5 separate regions of the Homo sapiens genome follow, and all the other regions are linked to region 2. The links are contacts of gene promoters, found by promoter capture Hi-C in human tissues and cell types (Jung and others, 2019). All regions are on one chromosome and are shown on one strand. Each heading gives the region's core, a stretch centred on a gene start or on the middle of the fragment in contact. The rest is flanking DNA. Distances are from core to core; before and after follow the strand shown. Region 1 overlaps ALDH1L2 (aldehyde dehydrogenase 1 family member L2). Region 2 holds the start of CHST11 (carbohydrate sulfotransferase 11). Region 3 overlaps C12orf75 (chromosome 12 open reading frame 75). Region 4 overlaps ALDH1L2 (aldehyde dehydrogenase 1 family member L2). Region 5 overlaps WASHC4 (WASH complex subunit 4).

Region 1 (2,700 bases), core at 88-2,587, 600 kb after region 2:
AGGTGTCAGACAAGACACAAGAAAGCACAAGTGGCAAAAGAACATAGATAAATTAGACTTCATCAAAATTAAAACCTGTTGTGTGTCAAAGGACACTCAAAGTTTTCAGCAAATCTACAGAATGAGAGAAAATATTTGCAAATCTTACATCTGATAAGGATCTAGTATCGAAAATATACGAAGGACGCTTAAGACTCAGCAATAAAAAGACAAGCCAGTTTTAAAATGAGCTAAGGATTTGAAAGAACAGACATTTCTCCAAAGAAGAAATACAAATGCCCAATAAGTATATGAGAAGATGCTCAACATCAGTAGTCATTAGGGAATACAAATGAAAACCACAATGAGATCCCACTTTACACCCACTAGGACAACTAAAAGAGAAAAGACAGATGAGAGCAAATATTGGCGAGGATATGGAGAAGTTGAAACCCTCATACATTGGTGGGATTACATAATGGTGTAGCCACTTCGGAAAACAGTTTGGCAGTTACTCAAAAAAGTTAAACATAGAGTTACCATATGACTCATCAATTCCACTCTTAGGTACATACCCAAGAGACTTGAAAACATATGTTCATGCAAAAACTTATATATGAATTTTCATAGCATTATTCATAATAGCCAAAAGGTAGAAACAACCCAAATGTACATCAACTGATGAATGGGTAAACAAACTGTGGTATACTTATACAATAGAATATTACTTGGCCAAAAAAAGGGATGAAATGATGATACAACATGGATGAACGTTGGACACATTATGCTAAGAGAAAGAAGCCAGAAACAAAAAGCCACATGTTGTATGATTCTATTTATATGAAATCTCTAAAATAGGCAAATCCATAGACAGAAAAGAGGTTAGCATTTTCTAGGAACTATCATGCTATCCAATTTTGGAACATTTTTTGTATGAGGTAGTCCTGGAAGAGTAAAGAATGACTGCCAATGGGTACAGGGCTTCTTTTTGGGATGATGAAAATGTTCCAAAATTGGATGGCATAATAATTGCACAACCCTGTGAATATATTAAAAACTACCCAAAATGCACATTTTAAAGGGGAATTTTATGCCATCTGAATTAGATCTCAGTAAAGCTGTTGTTTTTTAAAGGTCATAAATATAAAAACAAATGGGCAACAGGCACAGCAGTCTTTTATAGTGTATGGATCTCACTGATTTAGGGTTGCAACATCAAGGAAAAGCTTACATAATCTACAACCAGCTCCACCTCTTGATCTTCTCCTCTCAGTTTCCTCACGACCTTTTGGATAAAGCCTTCAAACTTGGTGGCCATATAGACATCTTCATTCTGCAACTGAAGCCCACCACATTTCTGTCTGATCTCTTCAACCAGCCTTAAAGTAAAAACCAGCTTCGCGTTACTTAGATTTTTAAAAGGGGTTAGGAAGATTGTGTTATTTGCACTTGTCAAGTTGTTTTGAGGTAAGACTTACATCACATGCCTATTTATATCCTATGAGATCTTCTGTGATACTCATCAGAGAAATTGATAAGACTAGGGGCAAGAAATTAAAAATATATCTTGAAGGACAGTGGCAGTTTTTTAAAACTTTATCCATGACTAAAAATAAAAGCAATCAAGGCAAAAATATTTTAATTACTTATAAGCAAGGTAGCAAGGATCATATAAAGTCAACTCCTTTCCTTTCATATATACTCAGGGAATAAGAAACAAAGACACTTTCCTAACTGTAAAGATTATGAGAGATGAATGTCATATTGTAGACTATTTTCTCTAAATTACAAGTATAAGATGGACATTTGTTTGTATTACGTAGTTAACATAGGTACTAGCTAGAACCATATGCAGTAGGTCAGTATAACTTTTGAAGTCCTTTCCAATCCTTTGATTTCCACTGTTAGTTTGTCAAATTACAGCTGTTATCTGACATTTCTTGAATAGCAGTGGTGTACGAGGTACAGTGTAGAAAGTCCACCATGGTTGTGGTTCAATCATTTATTCTCTAAAAGAGATGATACCTTTGTAATCAAGATAATAATATCAGATGATTATGGTAAGCCAGACACTCAAACAGAAAATGAGTAATTCCTGCAGGAGTATCTTGCTAGCAAAAAAAAAAGTATTAATAATACAGTACTGGCCGGGTGCGGTGGCTCACACCTGTAATCCCAACACTTTGGGAGGCCGAGGCGGGTGGATCACGAGGTCAGGAGATCGAGACCACCCTGGCCAACATGGTGAAACCCCGTCTCTCCTAAAAATACAAAAATTAGCTGGGCGTGGTGGCATTTGCTTATAATCCCAGCTACTTGGGAAGCTGAGGCAGGAGAATCGCTTGAACCTGGGAGACGGAGGTTGCAGTGAGCCAAGATTGCGCCACTGCACTCCAGCCTGGCGACAGAGCGAGACTCTGTCTCAAAATAATAATAATAATAATAATAATAATAATAATAATAATAATAATAATAATACAGTACTGTGTGTGATGTACCAGGTGTGATGACTCATGCCTGTAATCCCAACTAGTAGGGAGGATGAGATGAAAGGATGGCTATCCCAGGAGTGCAAGGCTGCTAGTGCAAGTGAGCTGTGATCACACCACTGCACTCCAGCCTAGGCGACAGAGTGAGGCCCTATCTGTAATAATAATCATCATAATGTAGTATTGAAATATTTAGTTAAGCCAATTAGAAGTTTCTGGGAACTCATGAATC
Region 2 (2,700 bases), core at 164-2,663:
CCATTCCTGATCTCCTATCACCAGAGCAGAAGAATCACTGGAGAACGACTCTGTCTGAAGCTTGTTCAGCCTGGCTTCCTTGAGCAAGCAACTTATTCACAGGTAAGTCCAAATTAATACAGCGCACACCGGCTACATAAATATTGTGCTTTGATTGTCTTCTGTAATCAAAGGCAAGGCTGCTGAGTTTGTTACTTTCCCCACCATGCAACTGCTGGAGGAGAACTCTGGGGGAAGGGAACTGAGGTTGCCCAGGTGGTTTTTGTTGCATGTGTCTAACTGCAAGTTGTGTCTCTGTCTATCGAGGGGAGGATAAGGCCCATTACATTCAGATTCAATAAGAATTTATCAAATGCCTATTTTGTGAGAGGCATTGAAAGACACAGTATCTTATTTCATTTTTAATTGAATTAGTAATGACTTGATAAGGCACAAAGGTTAGTCTAACTAACATTTTTTTTTTCCCTGACATACGAGTGATCCCTACACTATTGGCTGTGTCCACTTTATTGATTGTGAAACAGCCTAAATGCATGGAATTGGAAACTGGAAGTCATTCTACACAATACAAGAAAGCAGCACCATCTTTCCATGTACCTGCCAGTGCTATGGCTGGCTTGGCTTTTCCAGCAGTTTTCTGGACTTGGTTGAGGTGGCTTCCTAGGGGCATTTTCTCACCCCCTCCCAGCTAAGACTGCTGTTAATTTTGAATAATTTGGAGGATGCTCTACCCTTTGGGGTAGCAGAGTTTTGCAACCCACAGATCCCTTTTGCCTTGAGGAATGGTGGTGATGGTGGGTGTCAGAGATTCTGTCTGTATAAGTCCCCGGGAAAGCTCAGCTGTCGCCTGACCCGAGGGTCGTGCAGTTTCCTTAACCCTGACTTTAAGTCAGCCCTCTTTAACCCCGACTCCCAAGCTGGGCTGTCCTTTGAAAGAAAAACGAAACCGCCCAGTTCTGAGCGTCGGAAAATGGGCACTCGCTCCCTGGGGGTTTGGGGCAACTTCCCCGCTACGTCGCCCAGGGATTTTAAATAATTGCCAGCCACCAGAAACCCCCTAACCCTTAATTCTTCCCTCCGAGACCCAGCCCGCTGCTTGCCACTTCCCTCTCCAAACGCTGGCGGGGGTGGGTGGCAGCACCGAGGCGATTTTCTTCGTCTTTTTTTCCTCCGGGTTTTGTCATGGAAACGCTGACACAACCTCCAGACGGCGGCCGAGCCCGGCCGGGGACTGAGGGCTTTTGGGACCCTGCGGGAGCGCGGCGCGCACACCGCACTCCCCGGGCAACAGCTGGACGCGACCATATCCCGGGTAGGGGCGGGGGGAGCGCGACGCTCCGCCCCGGCGCTAGGGTCCCTCCCTCCTCCCGGCTCTCCGCAGGCGCCCTCCCCTCGCCGGGGGCCGCGAGTTGCATTTGGTAAAACCCAGCCCCGGAATATATAGATCGTTGGAGCGCAATGAAGTAGCCTTTGGAGAGAAGGGAGAGGGCCCGTCGGACAGCCACAGCGGCCAGCGCAGCGGCAGCGGCGGCGGCACCACCATCACCGCTCGCACCCCAGCCGCCCGGCCCGCGACCAGGCAGCGGCGGCCGCCGGCGGGATCGGAGGAGGCGGCGGAGCGGCGAGGAGGAGGAGCAGGAGCGCGCAGCCAGCGGGTCCACGCATCTCAGCACTTCCAGACCAACTCCGGCACCTTCCACACCCCTGCCCGGGCTGGGGGCTCCGAGAGCGGCCGCGAAGCGACTCCGATCCTCCCTCTGAGCCTTGCTCAGCTCTGCCCCGCGCCTCCCGGGCTCCGGTCCGCGCGGCGGGGTCCCTGCTCCTGCGCCCCGGGCGCGCTTCCCGGACACCCCGGTCCCCGCAGCCAGGACAAAGCCATGAAGCCAGCGCTGCTGGAAGTGATGAGGATGAACAGAATCTGCCGGATGGTGCTGGCCACTTGCTTGGGATCCTTTATCCTGGTCATCTTCTATTTCCAAAGTATGTTGCACCCAGGTAGGGGGCGCGTTAGCGTGGTTTTGTTGGATATTTTCTTCTCTCTCGCGCTCTAGCTCGCTCCGCCTGATTTCTGCCTCTTCCAACCCTACCTCTCCGCCTTCGGCCTCTTCGGGGCTCCTGGCTGCCCAGAGCTCCTGGCTGCCCAGATCTACCCGGGTCACCGCGTCGGGATGGGGAGGAGAAGGGAAGGTGTGCTTCGCCCTCTTCTTCCTACCGGCTCCGGGCTGGAGGATGGGACCAGGAGGGGCGGTAGTTTTTTTTTTTTTTTTTTTCTTCTTCTTTTTTTCTTTGTGTCCCTTGTCTGTCTGTCTGCGAGGTAGCAGGGAAACGGAGAGGTGTGGGAAGCAACCGGGGGTGAGGGGCTGGTTTGAGGAGAACGAAACTCCCTCCCTGCTGCTGCCGAGGTCGGAGGATGAAAGAGTTACCCGGAGCCGGCTGCTCTGCGCCCGGGCGAGCCGCCTCTTCCTGGTTGCCGGGCCGGGGGCGAAGGGTGTACGCCCCGGCGAGGTTGCGAGTCCCTGCAGCAGGCTGGGAGCCCGGGACTGGGCTCCCACGTGTCCCGGGCTCCGCGCAGAGCTGAGCAGGTGTGGAGAGTGGTCGGGTGCCCAGCGTTGCCCCTCCACCACGCGCCGGCCGTTTGCCCCCGGGGTCCGGCTCCGCAGTGACCTTGCGGCTGGTGCCCCGGGGCCTGCTCCAGCCCCC
Region 3 (2,798 bases), core at 58-2,557, 910 kb after region 2:
GTTCCTCAGGCCTAGGCCCTCAGAGCTGTTGTGAGGAATAGCATGGATGCACGTGCAGTGTCCTGCACTGTGCCTGACACACAGGAGAGACTCATGAATGACACCATTATACCCACGGAGTCCTGGTCTCTAGTCCTAGTGTTGTAGAATAACTGTTTGTGGAAGGAATGGATGAAGTGACAGTCTTATACATGGGAGTGAGTATGCAAAGACAGGCTTTACAACTTACTGGAAGGTTTAAAAGAGTGGATATCTGGCCGGGCGGGGTGGCTCAGCCTGTAATCCCAGCACTTTGGGAGGCCGAGGTGGGAGGATCACGAGGTCAGGAGATCAAGACCATCCTGGCCAACATGTTGAAACCTCGTCTCTACTAAAAATACAAAAATTAGCTGAGCATGGTGGCACGGGCCTGGAATCCCAGCTACTCGGGAGGCTGAGGCAGGAGAATCACTTGAACCAGGGAGTCAGAGGTTGCAGGGAGCCGAGATTGTGCCACTGCACTCCAGGCTGGTGACAGAGCAAGACTCTGTCTTAATTAAAAAAAAAAAAAAGAGTGGACATCTTATAAGTCTTTATAGGTAGTATTTTTTTTAAGATTTGGCATTATATCTGAAGCTTAATTTATTATCCAATAAATATGGCAACTACATTATCATTTCCTGCCAGTTATACATGTAAGGTTGTTGATTAATTTTATAATGGAGAACACAGATTGAGTTTTAAGATATTGAGTAATTTAACAGGAGAAAGTAAATGACTATTTTCTTACATTTGGGAAAGTGAAAATATATTTTAAAACCTTGAATATATCCTTAAGCACAGTTAAGCAAAAGGGGAAAGAATTAAAATAAACGGATATGTAAATGGATGTGAAAAGAATAGTCATGGCCGGAAATGTGTGTCATAAGCTACCAGTTATATACAGATTCAAGTGATTTCTTGAGAAAGTTAATCACTCAGGACCAAAGTAAACAGTTCTTATCAGAACTTACCTTGAACGAGTTTGTCCTCATCATTTCTCCATTATCTATGCTAAAGGATTATAAATCCATTTTAATTAAAAGTAGTGAACAACTCTCTCTTATACCACATCAATAAGCATAACACCATTAGTATGACTTTGACACTTGAACTAAAAAAACAATCCAGCGTTAAGAGGTAAATGAAGCTGATAACCATCTAGTGAATTTAGGTTATATGCTCAGTTTGGATGAATTAGGTCTCAAGATGGATTTTGCACTCTCTTCCAGTATTAGCTGTTCATGGCCAGCGTTCACCAGATAATTATTAAATCTACACTTTCCTTCTTTATAGACTTGGACTTACTGGCTGTTGCAATAAAGCAAAAATCTCATGCACATATACAGTCACATTTGAAATATTCACAGCTTTTAAGTGGGTAAAATCATAGTTAGACAATCTCTGAATCAGAAGAGTCAATGACATTTAGATGTTTGCAGTCTGCTTTTTGCTCAACTGAAGCCCCTTAGTGTTACAAGTTGAATTCAGCCAGATACATTGGAATCTTGTTGAATTATTTTTTTTTTCTTTCAGAAAAGCAACTTATGTATGCCAACTAGTGCTTCAAGGAAAGTGTCCTGATTCTCTTAGAAATACGCCAAGGAATTCTGGTAGAATATGGACTCCTTTTTTTTTTTTTTTTTTTTTTGAGACCAAGTATCCCTCTGTTGCCCAAGCTGGAGTGTAATGGCGTGATCTCTGCTCACTGCAACCTCCACCTCCCGGGTTCAAGGATTCCTGTGCCTCAGCCTCTTGAGTAGCTGGGACTACAGGCGTCACCATGCCTGGCTAATTTTTGTATTTTTAGTAGAGATGGGGTTTCAGCATGTTGGCCAAGCTGGTCTCGAACTCCTGACCTCAGGTGATCCGCCCGCCTCGGCCTCCCAAAGTGCTGGTATTACAGGCATGAGCCACCATGTCCAGCTTGGATTCCTCTTAATGCAAGGAGAGAAGCTGTGCATTTTAAAGTAGTGATCCCCTCTAAATGTATCCTTTTAAATATTTCTCCCTCTCTTTGCAGTAGATCATGTATGAAATGGCTCATGTTTTTAGATAAAAAAAAATCAAATAGGCATTAACTCTTTTTGCACTGAAGAAGTCTTTCAGTACCTATAGTTGTGCCACTGAAGTGTCATAAGAGATCTAAAACCATGTATTAGGACTGGAAGAGACCTGAGGGGTCATCTGGTCAACCAGCTTATTTTACAAATGAGACACAGGCTGGCAGCTCGCCCACAGCCTGTCTGTCACACAGGGAGTGGGTGGTACACACAAGACGATAACTCAGGCTTCTTTCCAATTTCAGCTGCCCTCAGTTTTCCATTTCATTTGGCAGTTGTGCATTTTGGCATTTGCTGGATTCACACATTTTGGTTTGTAGAAAATTACCAAGTTTTAACGTATGAATGATTGAGGTGAAGGCAGAATATTGTCACAGAAACACTTGATGGATAGTTTTGCTCCTCTACTTAAGTCTGATGGAAACATTTGAAATAAAATTGACTTCAACTCAGTAGTCCCTTTTTCTCATAACCAAAAATGAAGTCCCCGACTATGTAACCAAGTGTCTCATAGCAAATGTTTCTGACCTTTTAGAACAGAAGAATCCGTAACAGAAGATGACAAGAGGAGGTATGTTTGGTATTGCAGCTGGCTTTAGTTTGAATGGTTTTGGCCATACCTCATGGATTTAACACACTGTAGCATATTCCCAATAACACAGATTCTGCCAGGAAAACTGTTGGCACAGAGAATACAGGTAGGGGCATATGGTCTGA
Region 4 (2,767 bases), core at 265-2,764, 580 kb after region 2:
ATGACGGATTTGGAAGACTGATGAATTTTGTGCATTTTCCCTTTTTAGAAATTCAGTTTCTAATTCACCTGCAGGAAACCTCCCTGGACTATATATAGTGTGTCTATATATATATATATGTGTGTGTGTGTGTGTGTGTGTGTGTATACACACACACATATATATACGTATATTTATATGTGTATATATATTATATATATACATATATTTATATGTGTATATATATTATATATATACGTATATTTATATGTGTATATATATTATATATATACGTATATTTATATATGTGTATATATATTATATATATACGTATATTTATATATGTGTATATATATTATATATATACGTATATTTATATATGTGTATATATTATATATACGTATATTTATATATGTGTATATATATTATATATATACGTATATTTATATATGTGTATATAATATATACACGTATATTTATATATGTGTATATAATATATACACGTATATTTATATATGTGTATATAATATATACACGTATATTTATATATGTGTATATAATATATACACGTATATTTATATATGTGTATATATTATATATATACGTATATTTATATATGTGTATATATATTATATATACGTATATTTATATATGTGTATATATATTATATATATACGTATATTTATATATGTGTATATATATTATATATATACGTATATTTATATATGTGTATATATTATATATATCCATATATATGTGTGTGTGTATATACACACACATATATACGTATATTTATATATGTATATATATATTTTATATATATATATATATATATATATATATATATATATATATATATATATATAAAATGGATGTGGCTGGGTGCAGTGGCTCACACCTGTTATTCCACCCATTTAGGAGGCCAAGGCAGGAGGATCACTTTAGCCCAGGAGTTTAAGACCTGCCTGGGCAACATAGTGAGATCCCATCTCGAAAACAAAGTATAATGAATGCTTTGAAATACCATGCTTTTCCTGTGCATACATTTTATCTTTAAACATTACAAAAATATGTTGACTGTCTTGGGTTTGGGGTTCTTAAATGGTTAAAACAGACTCTTTAAGGTTATATATTCCTAACCCAGACATCCAGGGGAGTCCTGACCCCTGATATCAGTTTGAGTACCCCCAGCCATTGTCTGTCACTGAAACCTCCAGATGGTCCATTCAAAGGCCCTGGCCGCAGGGGTACTTGGTTCTTCTTCACTCCCAGACCACTCCATTCTCTTTGGGATGCTTACATGATGAAGTTTGGCTGTGAGTGTTCATTATAATTACATTTAGGGCCAATGGTGAACAGAGTCTGCTTAGTGCATAGGCTGGACAGTTGTACAGAACTGAGAAGACCATAAGTTTCCCCCACAATTACAAGAAAGCTTAGCACAACCCCTGCCGAGCATTGACTCATTTTATGCCTATATCTCAGATGTGAAGAATGAGAACTAGGCCAATTTTTTTTAACCTTTACATTTTATTTAAAATAAGCCTTTATACTTTGAAATAGTTTAAGGCTCACAAGGTGTTGCAAAAATAATGTGAGAGTTCCTTTGTGCCCTTTACCTAACTTCCCCCATGATAACATCTTATAAAACCATAGTACATTGTTAAAACCAGGAAATTGATGTTGCTAATTACTTGTTAAATATGAAACCCTTTGTTGTGTCTAAAACGCTTACCAGAAGCTCAATGTGCAAAACAGGTAAAAGTAGGACTGTTCAGGTTGATGGGATGAGATGTTGTAGGGAAAGGAGGGAGAAGCTAGAAGCCCTAATAGAATATCTTTTGAACTTTTTTACATGCCTGCTATGACTCATATCCTGTTTTAAAAACACCTTAGTAGAGGAATTATAAAGACATTATTTTTAAAAACTAAGTGCTCTGAGTATTCCCAAATCTAAGCATAAAAACAATGGTTTTAATTTATGACTAGACAAAACCCAAATCTCATTTAAGATCTCTGATAAAAAAGGAGGTGAAATGTGTTTTAGAAGCAAGCACCTATTTTTTTTTCTTTTTTTTTTTTGAGACGGAGTCTCACTCTGTCGCCCAGGCTGGAGTGCAGTGGCGTGATCTCAGCTCACTGCAACCTCCGCCTCCTGGGTTCAAGAGATTCTCCTGCCTCAGCCTCCCGGGTAGCTGGGACTACAGGTGCCCACCACCACGCACGGCTAATGTTTTTGCATTTTTACTAGAGACGGGGTTTCACCATGTTGGTCAGGCTCGTCTTGAACTCCTGATCTCAAGTGATCCACCCGTCTTGGCCTCCCAAAGTGCTAGGATTACAGGCGTGAGCCACCTCACCTGGCCCAGGCACCTATTTACTTAAATTTGACCCTCTCTTACCATTCGCACAGCCTTGTCAAGTTCACAGTCATTAAATATTATAAGTGGAGACTTGCCACCAAGCTCAAGGGAAACTTTCTTCAAGTTGCTAACAGCACAGCTAGAGGAAAACAAATGAGAAATGAGCATTTAGTTAACATCTCTCTCTCTCTCTCTCTCACACACACACACACACAAACACACACACACACACACACACACACACACACACACACACACACTTTTTAAGCTATAAGTTACCACCTGGCATGGAAAACATATTGAGCCTCAGTAATATTAAGAAACTTATTCAAGGCCAGGCACAGTGACTCACAACTGTCTGGGAGACCAAGGTAGAAGGGATCCTTTAAGGCCGGAAGTGTGAGACCAGCCTGAGCAACATGGCA
Region 5 (2,701 bases), core at 94-2,593, 660 kb after region 2:
GTTTATTACTAAGTATACAGATCTAAGAGAGCATAGGAATTTGGAAACAAAACAACCTTTAAAATTATTTTAATTTTTTTCTTAAAAACAGGCTGAAACTAAATTTTACAATGGTCTCTTGTTTTATGGAGAAGGAGGTAAGTTTAAAATTCCAAATTGTGATGCCTTTTTGATATTGAAATGAACAAAAAGTTAACAGACAATTTTAGGACTACTATGATTATATAATAGTGTGAGAAAAATAAGTATTCATATTTTTTGTTGGTATGTTTGGTAAACAGGTAAAAAAGCTGAGGAAGCAGCAGCAAATTTGTGATATCTTTGTACTTTACGAAGTACTGTAGGTAGATGAGAATTTTCCTTGAATTCATTAAATAGTGAAGCAAATACTTCTAATTATTTGATTAATGATTGTCTGATTTTTCTCTTTGGTGTAAAAATTCTGTTTTCAATACTATGCAGAGTAAAAGATGTCCTAATGAAAAAAAAAAACTTTTCCCCCTTTTTTGGTATTGATTGAGTTTAAATTTAAAAAATGAAATATGCTTATTCATGTTGCCTTTTACAGCTACAGATGCCAGCATGGTGGAAGGTGATTGCCAAATTCAAATGGGGAGATTTATTTCATTCTTACAGGTAACTGATTTTTACTTTCTACTGAGCTTTTACTTCAAAAAGTTTGAGTAAATTACACAACACGTAAAAAGTTCTGAAACCTTCAAATACTAAAGATGTGTACTCTGAGGATAAGACACTTAATTAGCATTGGATTATAGTTTAGGAGATCATAACTCCTAAAAGATTTCCAAGTATTTTTAGAGGAAAAAGCTATCAAAATAAGTTTCTTTGTGTATATTTCTTTATGGACAACTTGTCACCATGCCTTTTAAAATAATTTAAACTTTGTACCCACTGGAAAAGATAAATTGTATCAGGAAAAGTTGTTAACGGATAGGAGAGAATTAAGCTATTACATGAGCAATGATGAAGTTGTTTAAAGCGGTAGCCCTCCATGCTTCTAACAGCTTGTTTCAGTTTAGATAGCTTCTCATCACTGCCAGTTTTAATGATTGTAGGTCCTTTGGTTTACTCTTATCAAAAGAATAAAATGGCTTCTATTTCCTCCTCTGTGATAAAAATAGTGCATGTACGATGTGAAAAAGCAAAAATTGAAGCTAAGGAAAAAATACCCATAGTCCCACCTCCTTTCTGTTGTTGAGTACAAGATTTGATATATTTCATCAAATTAGGCATGCTAACATACTGTTCAAATCTTTTATATCTTTACTACTTTTTTTGGTCTAATTGATCTAATTGAGAGCATTTTGTTCATATTGTGATATGTGTTATTCAGGGTCCTGTCTAGAAAACTCCATACAAGGTATTTCAAAAGATGTAGTTTGGAGGATACAAAGTAGCAGATATGTAAGATGAGTAAGTCTAGAGATCTGATGTACAACATGAAGATTACAGGTAATAAAATACCGTATATGGCATTCATGCTGAGTAGATTTTAGCTGCTTTTGCTACAAAAAAATGGGTTAGCTATGTGAGATGATGGATTTGCACTTGACTATAGTAACCTTTTTATTATCGGTATGTATCCCATAACATGTTGTATACCTTAAATATACACAATAAAATGTATTTAAATAAGAAGAGAGGGGATTCAATATAGAGAATTGGTTACCCAGGAGTTGGAGGACAAAGAAAATACTGAGGTGTAGTCCAAAGGAAACAGATACCTCCTTTACATCCAGAGAACAAAAAGGATAAAGATTGGGATTGCCAGGATCTGGGAGCTTGGAGAAGAAGCCCCATGAAACTGATGCCTATGCTGAGGTGGCACTGCCTATCTGCTGCTGGCTTCTTTTCCAGCAAGGTGTCTAAAAAATGTAGTTGGTAAGGTCCCAGTAAATGTGGAAACTTTGCATTTTTCATTTTGAGGGTATTTTATTCAGTGTGTACAAGTTTAGAATTGTTAATCATTCCTGGTAAATTGAATCTTTTATCATCATTTGTGACCTTCCTTAGCTATGATCATGATTATGTGTATATGATTATGTATATGTATTTTACATGCATAGCAATTTACTGTACTGATGCTAATCAAGTCTGTTTTGTCTGACAGTATAATAATAATGCTGCCCTGGCTCCGTTTTAGTTAACATTTTCTTGATTTATCTTTTTCCATTCTGGCAGCCTTTCAGTGTCATGTTTTAGTTGGGTTTATTTAAAACCACATATATCTAAATTTTGCTTTTTTAATGTAGTCTGACAATACCTGTTTTTTAATCGCTTAATTTATTCTGTTTCTAGGTCTATCTTATATAGTCTGTATGTATATCTGGGCTTGTTTCTGCCTTTTTACTTTGTTCTTTCTGTTTGTCCTACATTTTCTCTGCTTTTTTTAAACTTCTAGAAGTTTAATAGGACATGTAAAACTATAACTATTTAAAAATAAAATGCGTTATTTATTTTCATTTTAAAAAATACTTTACATCATATTTAGATCTCACAGCTGCATAAAAATTCCGTTTTTAAACATTCAACAAATATGTTTTGTAAGCCTAGTATATGCTAGAAACTGTTATTGGTGCTGGTGATATAGCAATGCACAACACCAACAGAAATTCCTGTTCTCATAGAGCTTAAAATTTAGATCAGCATAGTTTTAATTAGGTTTTAAATACTTCAGATA

Evidence for each region. Contacts are between HindIII fragments. The study calls those that stand out against the background at their distance.
Region 1: a fragment that was not itself captured here is called in contact with the fragment with the promoter of CHST11 in region 2 in 1 of the 25 tissues and cell types used here (lymphoblastoid cells).
Region 3: a fragment that was not itself captured here is called in contact with the fragment with the promoter of CHST11 in region 2 in 1 of the 25 tissues and cell types used here (aorta).
Region 4: a fragment that was not itself captured here is called in contact with the fragment with the promoter of CHST11 in region 2 in 1 of the 25 tissues and cell types used here (bladder).
Region 5: a contact is called between a fragment that was not itself captured here and the fragment with the promoter of CHST11 in region 2, in 1 of the 25 tissues and cell types used here (IMR-90 fibroblasts).

The regions. Positions count from the first base shown.
Region 1 is chr12:105,056,863-105,059,562 of GRCh38, forward strand. It overlaps ALDH1L2 (aldehyde dehydrogenase 1 family member L2), which reads right to left. Exons shown (of 23, transcript NM_001034173.4): 10 at 1,211-1,358. Among named protein-coding and RNA genes, the nearest start is that of ALDH1L2, 26 kb to the right of the region's middle. The HindIII fragment of the contact is 4,090 bases long and covers 1-2,700 here.
Region 2 is chr12:104,455,535-104,458,234 of GRCh38, forward strand. CHST11 (carbohydrate sulfotransferase 11) reads left to right here and starts at 1,414. Exons shown (of 3, transcript NM_018413.6): 1 at 1,414-1,995. The coding sequence starts at 1,878. RefSeq lists enhancers at 1,083-1,132, 1,153-1,232, 2,153-2,202 and silencers at 1,303-1,432, 1,513-1,682, 1,723-2,002, 2,593-2,700. The HindIII fragment of the contact is 13,105 bases long and covers 1-2,125 here.
Region 3 is chr12:105,363,191-105,365,988 of GRCh38, forward strand. It overlaps C12orf75 (chromosome 12 open reading frame 75), which reads left to right. Exons shown (of 6, transcript NM_001145199.2): 3 at 2,617-2,652. Among named protein-coding and RNA genes, the nearest start is that of C12orf75, 34 kb to the left of the region's middle. The HindIII fragment of the contact is 8,128 bases long and covers 1-2,798 here.
Region 4 is chr12:105,035,722-105,038,488 of GRCh38, forward strand. It overlaps ALDH1L2 (aldehyde dehydrogenase 1 family member L2), which reads right to left. Exons shown (of 23, transcript NM_001034173.4): 18 at 2,382-2,481. Among named protein-coding and RNA genes, the nearest start is that of ALDH1L2, 47 kb to the right of the region's middle. RefSeq lists a silencer at 1,390-1,469. The HindIII fragment of the contact is 5,954 bases long and covers 1-2,767 here.
Region 5 is chr12:105,115,093-105,117,793 of GRCh38, forward strand. WASHC4 (WASH complex subunit 4) reads left to right here. Exons shown (of 33, transcript NM_015275.3): 5 at 92-137; 6 at 569-636. Among named protein-coding and RNA genes, the nearest start is that of WASHC4, 8.7 kb to the left of the region's middle. The HindIII fragment of the contact is 4,793 bases long and covers 1-2,701 here.